Linked DNA regions of Homo sapiens: all the other regions are linked to region 3. The links are contacts of gene promoters, found by promoter capture Hi-C in blood cells and fetal thymus (Javierre and others, 2016). All regions are on one chromosome and are shown on one strand. The core of a region is centred on a gene start or on the middle of the fragment in contact, and the rest is flanking DNA. Distances in the headings are between cores, read along the strand shown. Region 1 overlaps RSPO3 (R-spondin 3). Region 2 overlaps RSPO3 (R-spondin 3). Region 3 holds the start of TRMT11 (tRNA methyltransferase 11). Region 4 overlaps LOC105377989 (a long non-coding RNA gene).

Evidence for each region. The method cuts DNA at HindIII sites, captures the fragments that hold promoters and counts their contacts. A CHiCAGO score of 5 or more calls a contact.
Region 1: a fragment that was not itself captured here is called in contact with the fragment with the promoter of TRMT11 in region 3 in 8 of 17 cell types (monocytes, megakaryocytes, M1 macrophages and 5 more); the score reaches 10.3 in monocytes.
Region 2: a contact is called between a fragment that was not itself captured here and the fragment with the promoter of TRMT11 in region 3, in 1 of 17 cell types (endothelial precursors). The highest score is 5.1, in endothelial precursors.
Region 4: a contact is called between a fragment that was not itself captured here and the fragment with the promoter of TRMT11 in region 3, in 4 of 17 cell types (M2 macrophages, M1 macrophages, M0 macrophages and 1 more). The highest score is 11.5, in M2 macrophages.

Annotation. Positions count from the first base shown.
Region 1 is chr6:127,125,597-127,128,638 of GRCh38, reverse strand. The region is part of intron 1 of RSPO3 (R-spondin 3); the gene reads right to left. All of the region lies in intron 3 of LOC105377989 (a long non-coding RNA gene), which reads left to right. Among named protein-coding and RNA genes, the nearest start is that of RSPO3, 8.4 kb to the right of the region's middle. The HindIII fragment of the contact is 6,341 bases long and covers 1-3,042 here.
Region 2 is chr6:127,145,748-127,149,036 of GRCh38, reverse strand. It overlaps RSPO3 (R-spondin 3), which reads right to left. Exons shown (of 5, transcript NM_032784.5): 2 at 198-389. The region is part of intron 3 of LOC105377989 (a long non-coding RNA gene); the gene reads left to right. Among named protein-coding and RNA genes, the nearest start is that of RSPO3, 29 kb to the right of the region's middle. The HindIII fragment of the contact is 383 bases long and covers 1,762-2,144 here.
Region 3 is chr6:125,984,564-125,987,947 of GRCh38, reverse strand. TRMT11 (tRNA methyltransferase 11) reads right to left here and starts at 1,408. Exons shown (of 13, transcript NM_001031712.3): 1 at 1,326-1,408. The coding sequence starts at 1,397. RefSeq lists enhancers at 525-1,354, 888-1,377, 1,355-2,185. The HindIII fragment of the contact is 7,229 bases long and covers 1-3,384 here.
Region 4 is chr6:127,107,807-127,110,830 of GRCh38, reverse strand. The region is part of intron 4 of LOC105377989 (a long non-coding RNA gene); the gene reads left to right. Among named protein-coding and RNA genes, the nearest start is that of RSPO3, 9.4 kb to the left of the region's middle. The HindIII fragment of the contact is 5,877 bases long and covers 1-3,024 here.

The DNA of each region.
Region 1 (3,042 bases), core at 441-2,940, 1.1 Mb before region 3:
TTTGTTCAAATGACATCTATCTCATTTGTAATCACACTCCACATACGTCTATTTTGTCTGTCTAGCCTTCCCAAAACTGGCATGGTTTTCAGTGGTTGCTTAGCTGCAATAGTCATTATTGAATTAAGGCTCTTACAATATTTCTCAGTCTTGGCTGCACATTAGAATCACCAGAACTACTTTAAACAATGTAGATATTCAGGTACCATCCCCAAAGATTGTGTTATTTGTTCAAGGGTGGAGAAGATAGTTTTATTTGTTCAAGGGTGGAGTCTGGGCATTAGTATCTTTTTAAAGATCCCCAGGAAATTCTAATGTGACCTCAGGGCGGAAAATTATTGTACCAAGACCCATAAAGCAAGAATTCAGAGTGGAGGTTACTGTTAATGCTCATGGTAAAAGTAATATAAATAACAGACTTTATGAAGTGCCATAAAGATAACTTTTTCTGGATAACAATAGCCAGTAAAATATCTATTGTGGTTGTAAATTACATAGAAGGATTCTGATTTTTAACTGCAAAATTACAGACTTTTCTAACATTCTCATGCCTACATTAATCTTTTCTTGGTTACGCGCACCATAGATGGAAATAACAATCACAGAGTCTTTCATATAAACTGTGCAATCCTATTGCTTTTAATGAAAAAATCAGCAAACTTTTATGTTTAAAACTCATCAATAAGACAGGTTTAAGGAAAGAGAGGACAAAGGGTAAGGAAAAGAAAGCGATGTAGAGGAGGGTACTTGAATACCAGAAGCAACCTTTATAGTAAATGTTTGAAAAAAGGCTTATGGTTTGTTAAATGAGGATAAAGAAAGAAGGAGGAAAGAAGAGAGAGTAAGAGAAAGAAAGAGTGGGTGGAATTTAGAAAATGCACCATGATTGCCTCAAGTACCAACCCTAATGTTAAGGTGGAGTGAAGAATCAAAGAAGGACCTTGGCTTTGGAGTCTAGCCTAGACTGGAATCTGAGGTCCACCTCAATTCCTTGAGTGATCAATGAAAGTGGGACTATTGGCACATTCCTTACAGGTGGGTATGAAGATCAAATGAGATAATTTTTGCAAAAGCATCAAGCAAAGGGTCTGGCACTTACTGGTGATTATAACATGGGAGCTATTGAGTAATAACTATTATCATAATACTCACTTTAGTAAGTATACATGCATATTTAGATAAGATGTACATAAATATAACAGTGGCTCTGAGAGCTAAAAAGCTGTTGTTTGCCATGTAGCACTTACACATACTTTGGCATATTATTTCTTGTTGGCAAAATGTGATTGATATTTGCTTTGCATATATGACAGCCTTTGTTGAGATGACAGTGTTCTTACCTTTGAAGTCTCTTTGTAGAACAGGGGAACAAAAAACAATGAGAAAGGACTGCTGTTTTTCTTACCAACTTATCGAGCATATGTTAAGAAAACAGTGTTCTAAAATAAGCAGCTCACAAATTCTGTTATTTTATATTGTGTGGTAGTGGTTTGTATTATGTGGTTATAAAATGGGGGCTGCTTTACCACTTACTGTCAGGAATGTGCTTTGTATTGGGGTATAATTATAAATATGCTTACCAGCTAGTTTTCTAAGGACAATTTTTGGGAGTGAATGTAGCACATTGCGTTACTGTGTGTTCATTTTAGAAAGGTGTTTTAAGGTAACTAGATCTAATACCATGCCCATGCCAAGTGCAAAGAAGAGGACTAGGAGAATAAACTGCTTTGGATACAGAAGCCCTAAAAATAGGAGGAAAAAGGGGGAGAGCTTAGGGGGCTGACTGTTACTGAGGCTAGACAGTTACTCAGTGGGGATGTTGTAGAAGTGATCCCACACTGTGTAGATGGACTGGATTCTTTCAAGTTTTATCCCTTCCAGAGATTCTCTTATATTAAGAGAGCATACTTTGTAGAGAAATCTACTTAAAAGTAGAACGCTACAGTGATGAACAGATACTGCACCCAATTCAATGGTTCAAAATTTTATTTTTATACCTTATGTAAACTTGCCTTTCATTATCATAGTTTTTCAGGTCTCCTTATGATCTGTGGCAAAGTTCCACAGGTAAGAAGACTTCTAAGTGCAATTTTCAGCTGCAAGATTTGGCAACAACAACTACAGCTTATGATACCAGTGACCATCCTCTTATGTAACACAGAGAGTATTATAAAAACCATAAAAAACCACAGTTGAAAATGATATATTAAACTACTTAAAATAGACAAGGTACCTTAATGTAATTAATGTTATTTTGACATTACCAAGAAGAGTGAGTCTCAATGTCATCACAGCACACATTTTTTACACCCCCGTATCAGTAGGAGAGCACACACTTTTGATAATAATAAACATCATTTTTATGTGAGTGACTCTGAAGTACTTGTGTTCAGCCCTAATACTCTAATCCCAGGTGTTTTGAGTTTTGAGTTCCTAAACGTCCTACTGGCTCCTCAAAAGAGAAACAGATTTCCAACAAGACCTGCTTCTCCTATTTTTCTTTTTGTTGATCGTCATCATTTTTCCATTCACCCAGACCTGAGTCCTTATACTCCAAAGTTTATTGCCAAATATGGGCCTCCATCTCTTTCCCTTTCATATGCAATTAATTGCCAAGAACTACTGATTTGATTAAAAGAAATTATCTGCTGTATATACTCTTTTGTGCAGTCATTCACTGTTGTAGCCTAGGGCCTTATTTTCTTAAACCTGGACTATTGTAAATCATCTCTTCCTCATAATTACAGGCCACCTCTGAAAGCCTGCCATGCTAGGGAAGCTCTGAAGTGACCCTTGAGTCAGTATTCTGATCCAGCTCCCTAACCCTGAGCCTAAGGACAAGATGGGGTAGACTGAGTATGCTGATTGTTGCTGTGACTATGGTTTTCAGACAATAAAAAATGTGAATTATGAGGTATATCATAATTAATTCATTATCCACATTGATCACTTACTCGTTAACCTTTATGTGATAAATTTACTTATAATCAATGAATGTTTATGTTTGTTTGTACTCAATCTTTATCTGTTAAATTTAGTTGA
Region 2 (3,289 bases), core at 704-3,203, 1.2 Mb before region 3:
AACATGAGTGCTTTTTTGTAAGTTAGTGATAAAAATTTTCTGGTTCTGAGGGTTAAGTCCAAGTATGGTTTAGCCTAATTATCAGATAAACATTATCATTTACTTAACATTGAATATCACAAATATATTAGAGGCCATTTCAATCTGGAAAAGTCACCAAAGATGAGATAAAAATACAATTTCGTGTGGGCACTTACTTGTACACTTATTTATATCTGGATATCGAGTTCCATAATATCCACTTGGACATGAAGAGAGACATACTCCAATCTGCTTCATGCCAATTCTTTCCAGAGCAAAAAATAGTCTGGGCTTACATGACAAACATCCATTGTAATCTGAGCATGTTGCACAGCCTCCTTGGCAGCCTTGACTAACGTTAGGATGCACTGTGGAGACAAATGTAGAAAGACATTACAAAGGTTAAATCACAGATAAAAAAATGACATTTTCTGGGCAGGATATATGTTCTCTTTCATTAGCTTTCAATTTGTTGGTAATGGGTGAATGAGGTGGGATTTTTTTTCCTATCTTTTTTTATGATCTTTTATTTCCCTTTAGCACATGTATTGTTTTTAATTTCAAAGTTCTTAAAATTGAGCATTTGAAAAATAAAGAATATACTGCCTCAAAGGACTTATATATGTGTGTGTATACATAGTCTCTTTATCATATAATATATATTTTTAAATTATGTATAACTAATTATATATATTCTCTTCATATATATAATATCCTCACTGAACTAGCACCCTGGGAGATTGGGGACTGGTAATTTTGTGCTCATTTACACAGTGAAATTAATACACATTTGCTTTGCTTTTCATTTATGTAATGGAGGATAAGCATATGTTTCTAATTTCTTCAGTAAGTAAAATAATGTACATTAGGGCTTAACTTGAGTAAGGACACTAAGTTTTATATCTGTTTTGAACTATGGTGTATTAGAGAACACAATTTTACTTTTTGATCCAATGCAAACTGATGCTGAAGCTATGTTAGCTGTTGAGCTCCCCAGAATTCCTTCATTAAATATTTCTTCTCACACGAGCTTAATAATTGCCAGTTCAAATAGATATAATGGTGAAAATGTGATGCTTATCTCACCAGTGTTTCCATGTGGATCATATATGACTACTTATGGTAATTTATGTTCAATATTTTCTCTTTTGGAACTGGAGTCTTACAGTTTCTGTGCCCTTATCTTCTACTTACTCGAGTGAAATGTATATTTGGTGAGAATGGACCAGTCTACCTTAAGAATCACTGTTACACATATTCCAGGGTTTCCAAGAGTTACCAGTGTGTGAGTTAAGAGTGTTCATTAGCAAGTCTGAACAAACAGAAATGAATATTTGGGAGACTCATGTTTGCTTAAGATCATCACAACTTTAAATCTTCTTTTGACTATTAAATAGTCATCATCACCTCTGCATGAGCTGGTAAAAACTACTGACTAACGGATGTTTCTCATATAGCTGGTGTTTAGGATGATTTCTTTTCCTAATGTGTTCTCCACTCAAATATATTGCTAATAGCTTTATTGTCCTTTGAAGATGCCAGAAGAAAAAAAAACCATAATCCTTAGAGAAAGAAAGATTGATGCACAGGAATCTAAAGGCATCCCAGTGTATTTCTGGCTTCTCTTGTTGGTAGTAGAAGGAGTAGGCTCTGATGGACCTTAACATTATTAAATCTGTCTTTACAGTGACGTTTGGTTATTACTAAGTTCTTTACCACAAAAACAAATCCCTCCAAGCTTAGTTAGAAGAGGTACCTATAAGACCAAACAGCCTTACCACAGGGGTGCACGGGTTAGTTACAGAGAGGTCATTCGGTTGACCAGCATCCTCTGCCTGTAGGAAACCATCCCTGAATCAGCCACAGGAACCACAAGCAGCTCATTCTCATTCCAAGACGTTTTGTAAATAAACTAAGGAAATGTGTGGGGGAAGGGAAGTCTGCTTTTCCTGTGCATGCTCCTCTGTGGGGGCGGGGTAGTCACATAAAGTGGCACAGGAGGTTTAGACATTACAGGGCCTGGGGGACTTGTAAGTGAAACTACTTTCCAAGTAACAGGGTCATTTTTCATGCCAGTAACTCAGCATTGGTGACTTACAGAAAACGTGTACATATTGTAAGCTTGCAAAGATCCTAAAAAGTAAAAGGGGCAAGAGATTTCCATGTGTTTGGAATCTATCATTATCCATTTCAAGAAGCGAGAGGTGTAGATAAAAACTTGTAAGACCTTTTCATAGAATTGTCTATAGAAGAGTGGACCTCAACTTGAAAGAAAAGTGCTTCAAACTCAGGGCACTAAGAGACTCTGGGTTTAAGAAAGATGGACCATATTGGTCCATGCCAATCCATCCCTATCTCTGAAATGTGGCTGCTGAAAGAAAACACAAAATTCTAATTTTATGTATTCTGAAACTTTTGCCAATTATGATATAATTTTAAATATATCAATTATTAATATAAACATGATTTACATATTCAGAGCTTCAAAAACTGACATTCCTTAAGATAAATTTTATTTTAAAAACTAGGTTTTGAATGTTTGGAATGTTCTTCAGGAGAGAGCTTTGAATAAGTCTCATGATTGTAACTGTATCCACTGAAATTATGAGATGTGCCAAAATACCTTGCTTGATTCCCTCTGTCTCTAAAACTTTTACTGATGAAATGGAGCACAGTCAACATTGTGCTACAATAATTCTTTTTACCTTTTTTTTTTCATATAATGACTTCCTAGGCAAGGGTTTTTAAAAATTTGATTTTTGAAAAAGCAAGAAAGACCTAGTTGTCCCAACTTGCAATAAAATTTTATGTTTTAATCAGTGAATTTTGAATATGGCAATGAATTTTGAATATCAAATGATGGCAAACCTTATTTCTTCAGGAAGGTTTAAATGCTGGCTGTGGGAAGAGAGAGAAATGAAGACTATGAAGCTCAGATTCAATGAGTCTAGATTTTTTTTATGGTTATGTAGTGTAGTGACAGCTTTCTTGAATGCCGTATAAGGATCATACAAATTACACAGTCAGTATTACACAACTAAGTACAAATTTCCCAAACTTCATTTTAAGGCAAGAGATTTTACTTTTTATATGGAAACCACAAAAAACTTTGGTCTATATTGACTGTAACAACACTTTCAGCCATAAAATCTTGTGATTCTGAGACAGAAAATAGAATTTTACTTTCTCATGTGTCTTTCTTTTTATTCCCCATTCAATATTAACTTCATTTTGAATTTCTAAATCACCTTTTTCAAACAATATTTTC
Region 3 (3,384 bases), core at 159-2,658:
AGACTCCCAAATATTTATCACTAGTCCAGATCACTCTGCCATACTCTATGCATATTCATATATCCACCGCCTCTTGGTCATCTCAGGTTGATGTTACACAACCACATCAAATTCAGTGTAAACAAAATTTAAATCTTACATCTGCCTATGTTCTCTATTTTAAATGGAGACACTCCTACCTATATACACCCCAGGAGTCATACCTGACTGGTGCCCCTTTCCCACATATTCAATCAATCCAGCCTTAATGACTGTATGGCCTAAATATTTTCCCAGTCTATCCCATCCTCTTACTCCTTGCCCTAGGTCAGACCTTCTTAATCTATTAACAAGACTATTCCCACAGACTCCTAGTCTCTGGCTCAAGTCTTATTCTTTTCAAATCCATCCTCCATAGTGTTGTCAAACTGATTTAATTTTGTGGTCACTTTTTTACTTAAGGCTTTTCAATAAATCCCCCTTCCAAGCTCCAGGGTACTCAAGGTTTTCATTTTCTGGCCTCGATCTACTTCCCTTGCTCTCTTCTTACCACTCTGCCACATAACTAGTGATCCAGTAATAATGAACACCTTGTAATTCTAATTTACTGATTTATCTCCTTGGCCCTCTAACTCCTATTCATCCTTTATTTCAAGTGTCATCTCCTCTGGAAGCCCTCTTAAAGGCCAACATCCCCAACCCCTCAGGTAGATTAGATTTCCCTTCCACGTGCTCTCATATTTCCATGTGCATCTATCACTGCACTTACCGACGCTCTTTTGTCATTCTACGCCTATGTGTCTGCTCAGCCCTTACTCTAAACAGTAAGCTCCTAGAGGGCAGAGATTGCTTACATCATCGTTACATGCCCAGCGTACCGATCTTCGACTACATGCATTCTGAAAACGTTTCTTGAATAAATAAAACACTCTTCTCAACTTCTCCATCATCTAATCCCCACCACCATCCCCTCCACTGAGCTTGATCCGCAGATTCCAATACTTCAAACACCAGCCTGAGCATTTGTTAGCTGTCTCTATTCTCCGCTAGACGAAGAGCTCCGGGAGTGAGATGACCGGTCATATTCACCTGCCTAACTCCGGTACTTGATACACGGGCAAAAGAATGAAAAGTTTAAGCAGGCCGAGGGGTTTGGTCTCGGACTTCTCTCACACACACCCTCCGCCAAGCTCACCCCGCCCGAGGACTGGGGACGCGTGACCCGCGCAGACCAGCGAAGACCCCCGAATCCCAGCTTCCTCGGGCTATGCAGATCACCTCCACCCACTCCACTCCACTCCAGCGTCCTCTTCCGTCGGAAGTTCCGGAGGGCGCTACGGACTCACCGGCAGGCGGAACTCCAGATGCTCCTGCGCCATGAGGAGCAGATACCTGTTAAGGGTACACGACAGCGCCATTGCAGCTGCCCACCGTGCGCCTGCGCGGCCCGCGCTAGGTCCCTCTTTCTCCCTCCCAAAGCCCAGTCTCCACAGAGACAGAGCCTGAAGGGCCGGAAGCGGAAGCTCTGCGAGGCAGGCGCTATCCCGACGTTTCTCGCGCTCCGAGTCCGAAACTCCGGCCGCTGTGGGAGGGGCTTCCTCACCTGTGAATGCCTGGTGGTTAGGGGTCTCCCAGCGCTGGTAGCTGGTGAGCGGGGACGCGTGGCTTTCAGGAGCAGCCTGTGATAATAAGACAGTATATTTCCAAGTTATCGTTCCACTTGGAGTGTGCTTCCAGCTTTCTCTACAGCCCTTCAAAACCTGTTCTTCAAAATTGGACTGAAATTTCACCATTTCCTTGGAAATTTCACCATTTCCTTGTAGGTTTGTCTAACCAGCACAGCTTTGGGAACTGATTTAGTTGGGCCAGTCATTTAACAGTATATTTTTCGTATTTATGTAACAACTTTTCGAGAGCACATGCCTTATAACCCAATTATAATAAACTCTTGAGGTCTGATATAATCTTTTATGGTTCACTCTATTCTTAACAAAAACCAAAAGAATATCTTCCTCAAAGTAGGCAATAATTATTAGGTTGTGTTATTTGTTAGACTCAGGACTAAATCCACAGCCAGCCATAAATTAAAACTTGGAGAAAGCTCACACTGGCACAGATTTCATAGCAGATAGTTTATGAAATATATTTTAATTGCATATTCTATGTATATATGTGACTTTTTTTTTTTAAGACAATCTTGCTCTGTCACCCAGGTGAGTGCAGTGGCGCAATCATAGCTCACTGTAACCTTGAACTCCTGGTCTCAGGGGATACTCCTACCCTAGTCTCCCAAAGTGCTAGAATTACGGGCTCAAGCCCTCCCTCTGGGCTATTTCTGCTTTTGAGAGTACCGAGCCCTTTGCCCTATTAAAAATTATTTATTTTGCATTTCTCTGTGGTATTGTACAAGGTGCAAAAGAGTATGTATCTGGCATATCCCCAGCGGCATGTGCCAGAAACGTAGTTGATGCGCAGTGGTAGTGATTAAGAACATAGGCTGTGGTGTCAATATTAGATTCAAACCTCACTTCCACCATTTACCATGTATATGCTCTTAACCTCTCCGAGCTTGAGTTTTCTTTTAAAAATGGAAAAACACACTGCCTCCTGCAAAGGATTGTTACAAGGATTAAGTGGAATAATGTTCATAAAGTGTTGAATATAACATCTGGCATATTGAATGGGGCCAATAAGTGGCACTTGACATTTTTCTTAAGAAAATCACATGAGAATTTTTGTTAGCAAGAGATCTGTTTTTGTTAGGAATATGTCTCAAGTTCACTTGTGCTAAGTGACTCTGAGAAGCATAGCTGTCTCTTGACCCCAAAACTTCAGAAAAGGGGGTAAAAGTACTTTGAGACAAGAAAAGTTGTTTACTATTTGAGAAGAGAGGCCAAGGTTGGGACAGAAAACCAATGAGATGTTGGGGAAATGATGTGCAGTACTTGATATGCCCCATCCCCAGAACTTGTCAAATCTTCAGCAAAATTAATATGGAATTTTGATGGGGCAACTTTATAGAGAATATCAAAGAATTGCTGATTTTCATGCCTGGATTAATATGATGCTATATAGAGACAAATGAGACTACAAGGCCTGGAGAACCCAAATGGAATCAGGTGTCACTGATTTTTCACCCAGCTCCTTTGTGCTACAGTTCAGGACTAAATCTATACTAAATCTCCACCTCAGAAACCAGCAGGAGAGTATTTACATCATGAATCTAAATTGTTGGATACCTGGTCTGGAGAAGTAGAGATTAACCTTGCACAGGCCACTAGAGTTAGTGTGGAACTACTGTGACATCAGTGAAACTGCCTTTGAGGGACTCACAGCCAGACCTGTTCAAAGTTCTTGAGCTTACAAGAGTGGTTAAGAAGCAGCAGGAGAATAAGGACTTTGGAA
Region 4 (3,024 bases), core at 150-2,649, 1.1 Mb before region 3:
GAGAGGAAGTTGCAAGGCCCCTTGGAAGCCCTACAAGCGTCACTTCTACTGCAGTTTTTTGACCAAAGCAAGTCAAAAGACCAGCCTAGATTCCAGAATTTACCCAATAGACTTTATCTTTTGATAGGAGGAACTGCAAAGAATTGTAGGCTATTTTAAATCCACCCCAGAGCTAATGGGCAGGTTATTAACCTCTGTATAAAGCCAAATGTGGAGCTCTTTGGCCAGTCAGAAAGTTGATACCTAATTGAAGCAAGAAAGCAAAACTGAGGTTTACCATATACCCTATCTGACCACCTATACAGAGTGTCTGGTTCTAGATCAGTTCTTTCTCTGAATTGAGTTTTAATTCTATACTTGAAGCCTCACAAAATCAAAGCAGTACAAAGGTCCAGGCCATTGGTGGGACAAATTTTCAGCTTTGGGTACATAAATAAGAAGCAATTATGGTTTGGAACTCAGAGAAAAATCTTTTCAATGTTCTCATTTTGGGGGAAGTCACAAGTGTTTTTCTTCAGCCTGTTATTTCCTTCCCTTTTCTCTTGTCTTAAGAGCTAGGATAGTATTACTTAAGGTTTGTGAATATAATATAGACATCTTCTCATTGAAAAGAATCCTGTGAAAATGCCTCCTTACCAGGAGGCCTTCCTTTTGTCTACTAAAAATGGCAGCAGAACTTATCATTTTAGTGCATAGAAACATGAAGCACTATCTCATTAAATTCCATAATTCTGAGATTTAATGACATGAGGTACAATCATTTTGCCCTACAACATAGATTTACCTTAAGTGTTTAGGAAAGGAGGCAATTTAACTAATGGATTTATTTCCTCATTGTGACTTGATTCTCTGATTTAGTTAGGAATGATATATTGGGTTTTCATGAGTTTTTGGTGAATTTTCACCATTATGATCATAAGAATCAATACTTTTTTAAAGTAACATTGTAAGTTATATACAATATGGTGTCTTTTGTGTTTTTAAAAAAATACACTGTACTATGGTTCGAATGTGCTCTCTGCCAAATTTATATATTGAAACTTAATCTCTAATGTGATTGTATTTTTTAGAGGTAGGGCCTTTGGGGAGGTGATTAAGTAATGAAGGCTCCACTCTTATAAATTGGATTCATGCCCTTATAAAAGTGGCTCCAGGAAGCTCCCTTTGCCCATTGTTCCATGTGAAGACATAGCAAGGAGGTGCCATCTTTGAAGCAGAGAGCAAGCTCTCAGCAGACAATGACTCTGCTGACACCTTGATCTTGGACTTCCCAGCCTCCAGAACTGTAACAAATACATTTATGTTGTTTTATAAATTACTCAATCTAAAGTATTTTGTTGTGGCAGCCCAAAAGAACTGGTATACTAGATATTCAAGGACAGCCTGGTTTCTAATAGACAACTAATGCCTTGAGGATTTCTTCTTCAAATAATTATGTTTGTATGTGTAGCTTGCTTTCCCTCTGTTCATGTACATTTGTATTTTTCCTCTACTTATTTTTTAGCATTGTTAAAATTATTCACATCGTTATGTATACTACTTGAAATCATCACAATTAGAAATTTATTTTAAATGCAAATATTCCCAAGAAAGTTAAGAATGGGTGAATTATTTTAGTTAGATTGTTTCCTTCTGAACACATCTCTGAAATTTGACAAGGAGAGAGGGTCTGACCTGTTCAGGGGCATTATGAAGTGTGAGTATGAGGGAGACCTGTGTCTGATAAGGACACCGAGTAACTAAGGGAGGTGGAAAAGTGAGTGCAGAAGCAGAAGCTGCAAGAAAAAGCAGCAGCAAAAGGAGCTGTGTGAGTGTGCTAGGGATGAACTTAGTAAAAGGATGCACTTAGTTTTCTAGAGATAGTTTTATGAAGTATTAAGAAAAATCTACATTTGACACATTATGGCAACCTCCTAAACATAGGAGGAGATTGCATAAAATATTATACATAAATTGTTCTCAAAACAATGACATAAATTCACCTGATATTTGACATGAGATAGGAAGGAAGAAAAATTACCCAGAACATGCCCCAAAGATGGAAAGTGGGTGAGTATATATTATGGAATGCAAGGATGTGGGGCAAAATGCATATAGTTTCTTTTTACTCATTTTCTTTGAAAAATTAACTGTTTTCAAAATTGCTCCTATACGCATACCTGTTAGTGAGGACTGTATGAAAGTATTTTCTCTGCATGACCATCTTCTAAATGCCTCTTTGAGAGAAACTTCAGTGACAACATAGACACGTTTGATTGGATACTAGTACTTATGTTACCTTCTTTTTAAAAGAGTAACCACCTAATAAAAATGTTTTATTTAATATATAGCCCTGAAGTTTAATATTCTAGATTGATTAATTTGCAGGTGTTCGTTTTTAAAATGTTAAGTGGACATATTTTTCATTCACTGAAAATTATGTTGCCTTACAGTTATTCTCTACCTATTGAATCAAGGTCATTCATTGTTTGGGGTAAGGGGAGATAACTCCTAGACCACAATTTCACTATTGTGCTTTGAGTCTCAGAGCTGCCTTCCTTGAATCCCCAGTAGTTAGTCTTGCCATGGATTTGCTGAGAGAAAGAGATTTCTAAACTCCAAGTTTCCTTTATATATACCAGCAAAGTTTTGGTTCCAAATATGCAGTTTCACTGAAAGCCACAGTGTAGTGAGGAATCAGGACTGTAAAAAGTGTCCTTGTCAGAAGGAAGAGGAAGTGAAGAACCTTTCTGGAACTGGAGGAAAGAGTGGGAGTGTTGGGCAAAGAAATCAGACTCTAGTCTACTCTTGACAATTGATCATTCATAGAAGGAGTAGAATTATTATGCACCTTTAGGGCCTTGTGTAAAGTGTTCACAGAGAACTAATAATCAAAGGTAGAAGATGAACTAAAATCACCCCTGTGCTGGTAGAAACTAATGTAATTGTTCAAAGGCAGATCTGCCAGGGGCCAGAGACATCTTGCACAACTGTCAAGTATGGGTGAAAAGTGCTCAAAAAAGTTTTCCCTGCAGTGTTGGCCCT